Linked DNA regions of Homo sapiens: region 1 is linked to region 2. The links are contacts of gene promoters, found by promoter capture Hi-C in blood cells and fetal thymus (Javierre and others, 2016). All regions are on one chromosome and are shown on one strand. Each heading gives the region's core, a stretch centred on a gene start or on the middle of the fragment in contact. The rest is flanking DNA. Distances are from core to core; before and after follow the strand shown.

Region 1 (5,082 bases), core at 1,008-3,507, 120 kb before region 2:
TAACAGAAGCAAAAAACCTAAAAATTTAAATATATGGTTCTTCTCTGTCTTTTTTTAAAAACTGCTATGCTTGATATGCATCAAGCAATTTATTTTTATTGTATATTTTATTCTTAGTTTAGATTTATAGTTTTATAACCTTAAACATCTAGTTGATATAACATTGTTTGACCAGTAAACCCAGGTAAAATAAAATTGTAGTTCTGCATTCTATTTAATGCTGACAACTCCAAAGACATTTCTGCTTTTATTTTATCAACAATTTTTTTTTTTTTTTTTTTTTTTTTTTTTTTTTTTTTTTACAGAGCCTGGCTCTGTCACCCAGGCTGGAGTGCAATGGAATGGAGCCATCTTGGCTTACTGCAACCTCCGCCTCCTGAGTTCAAGTGATTCTCCTGCCTCAGCCTCCTGAGTAGCTGGGATTACAGGTGTGTACCACCACGCCCAGCTAATTTTTGTATTTTTAGTAGAGGCGGAGTTTCACCATGTTGGTCAGGCTGGTCTTGAACTCCTGACCTTGTGATCAACCTGCCTCGGCCTCCCAAAGTGCTAGGATTACAGGCGTGAGCCACTGTACCTGGCTTTTTTTTTTTTTAATCTATATAAACAAGGTCTCACTCTGCTGCCCAGACTGGATTGCAGTGGTGTGAACACAGCTCACTGCAGCCTTGAACTTCTAAGCTCAAGGGATTCACCTGCCTCAGCCTCCCAACTAGCTGGGATTACAGGCGCCTGCCACCACGCCAGTCTAATTTTTTGTATTTTTAGTAGAGGCGGGGTTTCACCATGTTGGCCAGGCTTATCTTGAACTCCTGACCTCAAGTGATCCACCCACCTCGGCCTCCCAAAGTGCGGGGATTACAGGCGTGAGCCCCTAAGCCCGGCCTACTTTTTAAACTTTTTGTAAAGACCAAGTCTCAGTATGTTGTCCAAGCTGGTTTCAAACTCCTGGGCGCAAGTAATGCTCCTGTCTCAGCCTCCCAAAGCACTGGGATTAGGGGTGTGAGCCACTGCGCCCAGCCTGCCAACAATCTTAAAACTAATTTTATTTACCCAAAAGACTTAACAAGGCCCATGTGTTCAGATTCCTGTCTGTGTCCCCATCTTTGGAGGAAGGACACCTTTCACATGGGGAAAGGATCAGGGAGATCCCTTCAGGAGAGAAGGATCAGGGAAGTCAGAGAGATTGTCCTGCACATGCTGTTTCTCAGATCCTTCCAGCTTAAAATATTCAACATGCCAGTGTGCCATGTTTCTGGGTGGCATGTCCTGAACCCTCTTATTGGATAGTATAAATGGCTATTCACTCTGAAAATCTGTTGAGCTGTATCTTTACATTCTGTCTACTTCTGTTCATATGTATTACCTTTCATAATCAAAAGGTAAAAATACTTTTTTTAAAAAAAAGCATAAAAGCTTCTAAACACAAAAGTTGGTGTCAGAAATATTCTAAATGGAAAGAGGAAAAGAGTGGCTCCTAAGATGACTGGATTATTAGAAGTAAAGAAATGCCCTCCCTTCTTGCCCAATAAACTCCAGAAGCTCCCAGAGTGGCCCTAGGCGAGAAGAGATGAGAGGGAGGGTCAGCCGTGCTCTCCAGGGAAATCCCCTTGTTTTCCCCAGGCCAGCCCCAAAGGGGCACTAGTCTACACTGAACTCTCAACTTCCAGGCAATAGAGACCACCCTTTCTCTGCTGCTTTATTTGACAGCTTAGGAAAGACTGAAATGTTCAAACAAAAATGAACAACAACAGAAAGCCTTGACAAAGGAAAGCCAGATGCAGAGGACCATGGATCCACATATCCTAAATGCAAGGGAGAGCCTGCTCTCCAGGCTCCAGAGCCTTCCACTCATGGGCTACCCCAGGAATAATAGGGACTCCTCCCTGAGTCTCCCCACTCCTGACTCCAGGCTTTCCTCCCACAGCAGGTGACATTCCTAAGTTTGTATGCATGTGCCAGCACACATTTATATATACAAGTGCAATATGTACATAGTAATGCACACACATATTCTCAAACCTACACACATACACCTCACACACATACATAAACGTAACATATATACACCTACACACACATAAACAGACACATGCGGACTTACACATGGACATCTATACAGAAACACACACATGTAAGCATACATGCACACACACAACACAGGTGCACATGCACATACAATGTTTGCAAACATATACAGCCACAGGCATAGACACACATATACACCTGGATACATATACAAACCCATCACACATGCATACATATGCTCATTCACATACTACAAATACATACAAAAAGGCATACACATATATGCACACATGCACAACATACAAACACAGAGACATGCATGTAGGCATAATACATGCATGCATACTCGTGCGCAAAAAACACACATGTGCAATACACAGATACATATACATAAATGCATGCATACACATATGCAGACAATACATAGATACATGTCACACAAACATATTGCTATATATCCATATATACATATGCAAAAACATACACATATATACACAAACACACACATCTTTATGTACACACCCACAAACACACACCCCACATACCCACACGCACATACTGCATGTGATAGCCATCCTACAAGATGACCTCCAGTGATCCTTACCTCTTGGAATTCATGCCTTTGTGTAGTCCCTCCCACAGTGTATCAGGGTTGGTCTCTGTGGCCAGTATAATATGGCAGAAATGATGGCATGGGACTTCCAAAGCTAGGTTTTAAAAACACTGTGGCTTTTGCCTGGTTCTCTCTCTCTCTCAGGTCACTCACTCCAGAGGAAGCCAGCTGCTGTGTCATGAGGCACTCAAGCAGCCATATGGAGAGGCTGATGTGGTAGGGAACTGAGACCTCCTGCCAACAGCCAGCATCGTCTTGCCAGGAGGGTGAGTCATCTTGAAAGTGGATCCTCTAGCCCCACGCAAGCCTTCAGAAGACTACAGCCAACCCTGAGTAACATCTTCACTGCAACTTCAAGAGAGACCCTGAACCAAAAATACCCAGCTAAGCCTCTCTCAGATTCCCAGTCCACAGAAACTGTGAAATAGATGTTTATAGTTTAAGCGACTAAGCTTTGGGGTAATTTGTCATGTAGCAATAAGCCATAGATATTCTTTGCTAAAACTGGATTTTTAAAAAAAGTAATAGACAATGAATACAAGTACACTACATGTACACATATACACATTGACACACACATCCCATCTACATACACAAATACATCTCCCACACATACAAACCTACATACGCACACACAAACACACATGCATACAGTACACATTGATTCATACAAACACATGCACACACATATAAACACATGGACACAACACCCATGCACAAACATATAAACACATGTATACACATATAAACACATGTACGCATGCGCAAGTCCCGAGAACCCACTTCTAGAGTCTTTGGGCTCTTCACCATCTAGATGCCCACCTGGGGCTCCCCATAGAGCTCTGACCCATCTCGGAGGAGCTGCCTCTTCTCTCTCTTTTTTTTTTTTTTTTTGAGATGGAGTTTTGCTCTGTCACCCAGGCTGGAATGCAGTGGCACAATCTCTGCTCACTGCAACCTCTGCCTCCCGGGTTCAAGCAATTCTTCTGCCTCAGCCTCCAGAGTAGCTGGGACTACAGGCACATGCCACCATGGCCAGCTAATTTTTGTACTTTTAGTAGAGACGGGGTTTCACCATGTTGGCCAGGCTGGTCTTGAACTCCTGACCTTGTGATCTACCCGCCTCGGCCTCCCAAAGTGCTGGGATTACAGGCGTGAGCCACCGTGCCTGGCCTGAGGAGCTGCCTCTTCTCTAGGAGATTCCCACCAGAGGTGATCCTGTCCTTGAGGGAAGACCTTGTTTCCCGACAAAGGGTGGTGGCCTGAGTCTTGCAGGCCTCAGTGCAATGATAGCACCATCCCCACTGGCTATCCAAGAAGAGGCACAGGCATGGTGGCCCACCCTCTCCCTATCAAGGTGGGCAGCCTTTGTTCCCTGGGGTCAGGTGGGCTGTCTCACACCTTCCCCCTGGTGAGCTGTAAGGCAGGTCTCCTGGATTCTGCTCCTGATTCTCTACCAGACCAGGCCTCTCTGCCCTTCTGGGTTTCAAGGTCTTTCACCTTGAAACCTTGGGGCATAGCCGAAATCTACAAACCCAGAGAGGCTGAAGCTGAAAGGAACTAGAATTCAACTCACAATGCATTTGTGCAACACGAGGCTGCTTTATATCCATCATCTCATTTCATTTTCACAGTCACCCTGATGAGCTGCCCATCTAACAGATAAGAGCACTGAGGCAGAGGTGTTTCATCTGGGGCCTCAGGACCCAAAATCTGTTTCATTTTGGAGCATCCAGGCTGAGCTAGGTCCTGAGCCAGACACTGAGGATGTGATAGCAAATCAAACAGACATGTCTTCTGTCCTCTTGAAATTTACACTCCAGTGGGGAGACGCAAATAAACAAGTAAACAAAGGAAGAAGTCCATCGGCCGCGGTGGCTCATATCTGTAATCCTAGAACTTTGGGAGGCCAAGGCAGGTAGATCACCTGAGGTCAAGAGTTCAAGACCAGCCTGGCCAACATGGTGAAACCTCATCTCTAATAAAAATACAAAAATTAGCTGGGTGTGGTGGCAGGCGCCTACAATCCCAGCTACTTGGGAGGCTGAGGCAAGAGAATTGCTTGAACCCAAGAGGCAGAGGTTGCAGTGAGCCAAGATCGTCATTGCGCTCCAACCTGGGCAACAGAGCAAAAACTCCATCTCAAAACAAACAAAACAAACAAACAACAACAACAACAACAACAAAAAACGAAGAAGTCATGGACAGTGGTAAGAGTCATGAAGGTAATGAAGTGACAATTATTCCTAGGGACCAGAAACTACTTGGTGGGGAGGGTTATACTAGAACAAAGAGATAACAATGGAGGGTGGGGAGAAGCAGAAATGGCCTTTGAGAAGGACTCAGGTGTTCAAAGAATGGAAAGGAGGCTGGGAACAGAGAGAGCAAGATGAGAGAAGGAAATGAGGCTGGAGAGGAAGGCAAGGCTAGATCACGTTGGG
Region 2 (4,866 bases), core at 1,345-3,844:
GAGGCCTCCGCAGCCCCTGTTTAGCTTAGCCCCTGCTTAGCCAGTGCCTTCACTACTGACACTGAGCTGTACTCACCTTGTTCAGGGGCACAGATTATACCACATCCGGTACAACTGGGTACAGTATCAGTGACATTTCCCAGGAAGGAAGTTGAAGTGGATGGGGACATATTGTGGTTCCTGGCGCCCCATGCAACAGAAACCAACAACCTACTCTACTCCACGGTGGGTACAGAGCCACAGCCCTCCCTACCCAGATACCCACCCACATGCTCCTCACCCAGACATCAGTCCGCTCATCGATGACACAGTGACTCTGCACAGAGAAGAGCTCTGGGGCTCGGTAGGAGATGGTGCACCGCTGGGCTGCCCAGTCCTGGAACAGTGATCCCAGAGCTCAAAAGTGGGGCACAGGTCATGGTCATGTGACCAAACTGGGACATGCACCAGAAGGGGTGGGAATGGGGAACAGGTGAGAAAAGGAACCTGGAGACTCTTTTACCTGCAGGGTCAGAGCCTGGCGGGAGCCCTCCACATGGATGCATGCTTGATTCATGGAACCCAAGTCCATTAAAACTGGCTGCCCCTCATCTCCAAGCAATATATTGGTGGGCTTCAAGTCTCTGTAGAGAAGTAGAAGTGACCTATGAGCATCTCTGGACAGGAAGGCTGGAATCCCAGCAAGCAAAAGAATCATACAGGCTGTTTCTTGGGAGAACAGAGACCTCCCATGTCTCCTGGTGAGGCTCTTCCTCTGGGCCCCAGCAAGCACACAGGGTCCTCCCACTGACCTGTGGGCATAACCCTTGGCATGAATGGCCTCAAGGCCTCTGCAGATCCCCAGCAGCAGCCAAAGGATTTGATCCTCGGTCAGGAAGTTGCCTTTGTCCTTCAGCCTTTCTATCTCATTCCACAGCGTACCTCTCTGCAACACAAGTTTCCCTACAGTTGGAGATGTTTTTGGAGCCTCTGCTCCTTAGGCCTGATCCCTTCCCTATGTCAAAGCCTATCAGCCCTTTCATGATACACACCTCAAACTCAAAATCTAAAGTGGCCAAACCCAGGACATGGTCCCTGCTTCCTAACATGCTGGACTGCTCACACAGCCCTTGAGTAGGTGGCTCTGCTGCAACCCCCTCCATAACCAGGAGTCTTTCTGACCTTGAAGAATGGTAGCAGCAGCCAGGCCTCATGCTTAGCACCCCGTTCCCTCAGACAGTAAGCCACGAGGCGAAGGATGTTGGGGTGATTGAAGAGGCGATGCATGTCGGCTTCTCGCTGGGCCTCCTCCCGGTCCTGCTGCTCGTGACACAGGATTCGCTTCAGGGCGTAGAAGTGTCCATCATGTAACCCTTCCACTAGGTCCACATAGCTGAACCCACTGTGGGCCAAAGGGGTCAATAAAGGGCCATGGTCATCTCCCACATGGCTTGGACCTAGAGAAATTTCCTGGTGGGGAGTGGGGTGTCCTTCCCATTTAGCAGAAACCTTCCCAAGATGTGGCTCTAAGAGAAATCTGAAGAATATTACACCGTGAGCTCCTCAGGAGCAGAGATATAGAAATCTTTGAGGTCCTATGGTCGTAATAGAGACCTCTGCACTTGACAGATGCTAAATAAATAATAGCCAACACTTATCAAGTACTTGTCAACCCCGCATTGGGTGAGACATTTTATACACATTATCTCATTTAATCCTCACAACTCCATCAGTGAGGGATAATAATCATCTCCATTAAGCTGATGAAAAAAACATGGTTTATCAAGGTCACACGAGGTGGATTTAGCAGGCCTGGCTCCAGAATCCACCTTCTTGATACTGTGTAGCTAGGTTCTGTCAGGTGAGAGAGGACAGGGATAGGGATAAAACCCTTGTGCCCCAAGCATATGCACACCGCTGTCCTTCAATGATCATAAACTTGAGGACTAGTTAACTGACTTCCAAACACTCACCCCTCCCCCAGTTTCTGGATGAAGAGGTAGCGCTTATTGTCAATGATGACAGTTCCCCGAGAGCAGACACACAGCGCGTGGCCCATAATGTCTCAGTCATCCTCTTCAAGGACGGTCTGAGGCTACCGAAGAGCTCGTCCAGGGTGAGTGGGCTCTTCCAGGAGATGCGCTGGGGGCCCAGCGGATCATGCTGGAAAGAAAACAACGGCAGGGTCACAGGTCCGGCACAATCCAGACGACCCATGAAGTACCAATGCGGAGAGCTCAGGCCCAGGTCTCTGGAACCTACACTATAGTGTAGAGAAAACAGGCCCTGCTCCGTCGCCAGCTTCAGGGGTGGGGTCAGGCGCCTTACGGCCTCAGGACACACAGCGGCTACCGGGCCACTTCCTCCAACCCCAGCCCATCTTTGGGCAGCCCCCGCTCCCACGCCCATCGCGCCGCAAAAGCAGAGCATAGCGTAGTTTCAGAGGACGTGCGAGGCTCAGGCCCACTCCTGGCAGGGCCCACCCCGGTCTAGGAGCCCAGAGCCCGGGATGGGCCATCTGCACTGCCGGACTGACCTGGCTCGGGCCAGAGAGAAGCGCCACCGACCGGAAGCAGTGCTGACATCATCAGTCCGCGCCGGCGTAACGGCCCGCGGTATCTCAGCAACCGCTGGGCATCCGGAGGATGTGGGGACGCGGAGCTGAGAGGCTCCGGGCTAGCTAGGTGTAGGGGTGGACGGGTCCCAGGACCCTGGTGAGGGTTCTCTACTTGGCCTTCGGTGGGGGTCAAGACGCAGGCACCTACGCCAAAGGGGAGCAAAGCCGGGCTCGGCCCGAGGCCCCCAGGACCTCCATCTCCCAATGTTGGAGGTAGGAGGCTTCATACCTCTGGCGCTCTGGGGCAGAAAGCGGCCAACTACACTGCAGCCTGGAGGGGGATCCAGTGAGGGGCGGGTCTGGTGGCCTGGTCTCCTGATCCCGTACAACCTTCTGGGCTCTGGCCTGTATCCCACTACCCCTAGTCTCAGTGGTTAAGAGCTCAGGCTTGTGAACCAGACTTCCAGTTTCTAAATTGAGTGTTAATAGCATGCTAGCTGTGTAACCTCGGGCAAGTTACTTAACCTCTCGGATCCTTACTTTTGGTAGCTGTAAAATAGGTATAATAGTACATAAGGTTAAGTAGCTTAACTGTGAGGCCAGACTGACTAGTTCAAATGACAGCTCCGTTAACGTAGTTGTGTGACCTTGGACAGGCTACTTAATGTTTCTGTCCTTTCCTCTCCTCCTCTGTAAAATGGAAATAATTATCTACCTCATGGAGTTGAAGATTAAATGAGATGTACAGTGTTTAATACAATATCTGACACATAGCCTTCAGTACGTGTCAATAAACCGTAATTATTATTACCCTGATCTTCACATCCCATTCTTGAGACTGTAAAGGCAAAAGGAACGGAAATTCACAGATTTTCGAGCTTTGGCACAAAGCAGTTGTCCTTAATATCTGTTGCGGAGGCAGGCAGGGGTAAGCTGGAGAGGGGTGCACTTCCAAAGAAGGTGGAATGGCCAGGAGGGAATGGCTGTTTTGCTGAAACAGGACTCTCCAGGAAAGAGGTCCTTCTTGTGACCTGGTTCCTCCCTTCCACACCCCGGATCACCCTGAAGATTTTCCAATGGTTTCCCCTGGTTCTGAACCTGTTTTAGCCTTTTGGTTATGACATTGATTCATCCAGATTTAACCTACTATATACCCGGCCCTGTGCTAGAGGCTGAGGATTTGAGATGAACAGGGCACTCCCTGTCCTCAGGGAGCCCAGTCAAGTAAAGCCATGCTTCTCAATTTTGAAGGTGCCTAGGATCACCTGGGAATCTTGTTAAAATACAAATTCTGATTCTATAGGTCTGAGGTAGGATCTGAGATTTTACATTTCTTTTGTTTGTTTGTTTGTGTTTTTTGAGACAGAGTCTCGCTCTGTTGCCCAGGCTGGAGTGCAGTGGCAGGATCTCGGTTCACTGCAACCTCCGCCTTCCGGGTTCAAGCAATTCTCCTGCCTCAGCCCCTACCCCCACCCCCACCCCCACCCCCACCCCCACCCTCGGAGTAGCTTGGAATACAGGCGCGTGCCACCAGGCCCGGCTAATTTTTGTATTTTTAGTAGAGACAGGGTTTTGCCCTGTTGGCCAAGCTGGTCTTGAACTCCTGACCTCAAGTGATCCACCCGCCTCGGCCTCCCAAAGTGTTGGGATTACAGGCGTGAGCCATCGTGCCCAGCCAGATTCTCCATTTCTAACAAGTTCCCAGGTGATGTCGATGAAGCTGGTTCGTGAACTGCACTTTAACATGATGTAGAAATTTTACAAACTAGTAGAGTAAGGGGGTGGCTGCAGGCTGGAGAGGAAGTCCAGGCTAAACGCCTGGCAACTTGAGGTGGTTTCCGCCCCCTTGCTCGCTGAGGTTCCCTCCCAGGAATCCGACACGTGACGGTCTGTCCGCCGTCTCAGACTAGAGGAGCGCTGTAAACGCCATGGCTCCCAAGAAGCTGTCCTGCCTTCGTTCCCTGCTGCTGCCGCTCAGCCTGACGCTACTGCTGCCCCAGGTAAGATGAGACGGTGAACCAGCCTGCCGGGTGCGGTGAGCGGGATCAGATCCAGCGGATGAGAGAAAGTCCAAAGTAACAACCAAACAACCCGCAGGGCTAGTTCCATCTCTTCCGCTCTTGGCAGGCGCTGACCCTCGACGCTCCCTCCAGGCGTCTGCTGAGCAGCGTCTCTTTCTCTTTATAGGCAGACACTCGGTCGTTCGTAGTGGATAGGGGTCATGACCGGTTTCTCCTAGACGGGGCCCCGTTCCGCTATGTGTCTGGCAGCCTGCACTACTTTCGGGTACCGCGGGTGCTTTGGGCCGACCGGCTTTTGAAGATGCGATG

The links. Contacts are between HindIII fragments. The CHiCAGO score rates a contact against its expected background, and 5 or more counts as called.
Region 1: a fragment that was not itself captured here is called in contact with the fragment with the promoter of GLB1L in region 2 in 2 of 17 cell types (M1 macrophages and M2 macrophages); the score reaches 7.2 in M1 macrophages.

Annotation. Positions count from the first base shown.
Region 1 is chr2:219,360,512-219,365,593 of GRCh38, reverse strand. LOC105373883 (a long non-coding RNA gene) reads left to right here. Exons shown (of 2, transcript XR_923917.3): 2 at 2,786-3,092. Among named protein-coding and RNA genes, the nearest start is that of DNPEP, 25 kb to the left of the region's middle. RefSeq lists an enhancer at 2,982-3,031. The HindIII fragment of the contact is 1,677 bases long and covers 1,419-3,095 here.
Region 2 is chr2:219,243,172-219,248,037 of GRCh38, reverse strand. It overlaps GLB1L (galactosidase beta 1 like), which reads left to right and starts at 2,594. Exons shown (of 17, transcript NM_001286423.2): 1 at 2,594-2,809; 2 at 4,395-4,536; 3 at 4,724-4,866. The coding sequence starts at 4,465. STK16 (serine/threonine kinase 16) reads right to left here and starts at 2,559. Exons shown (of 8, transcript NM_001330213.2): 1 at 2,242-2,559; 2 at 1,953-2,142; 3 at 1,162-1,381; 4 at 792-925; 5 at 503-623; 6 at 281-376. The coding sequence starts at 2,038. RefSeq lists enhancers at 2,418-2,847, 2,296-2,878. The HindIII fragment of the contact is 6,920 bases long and covers 1-4,866 here.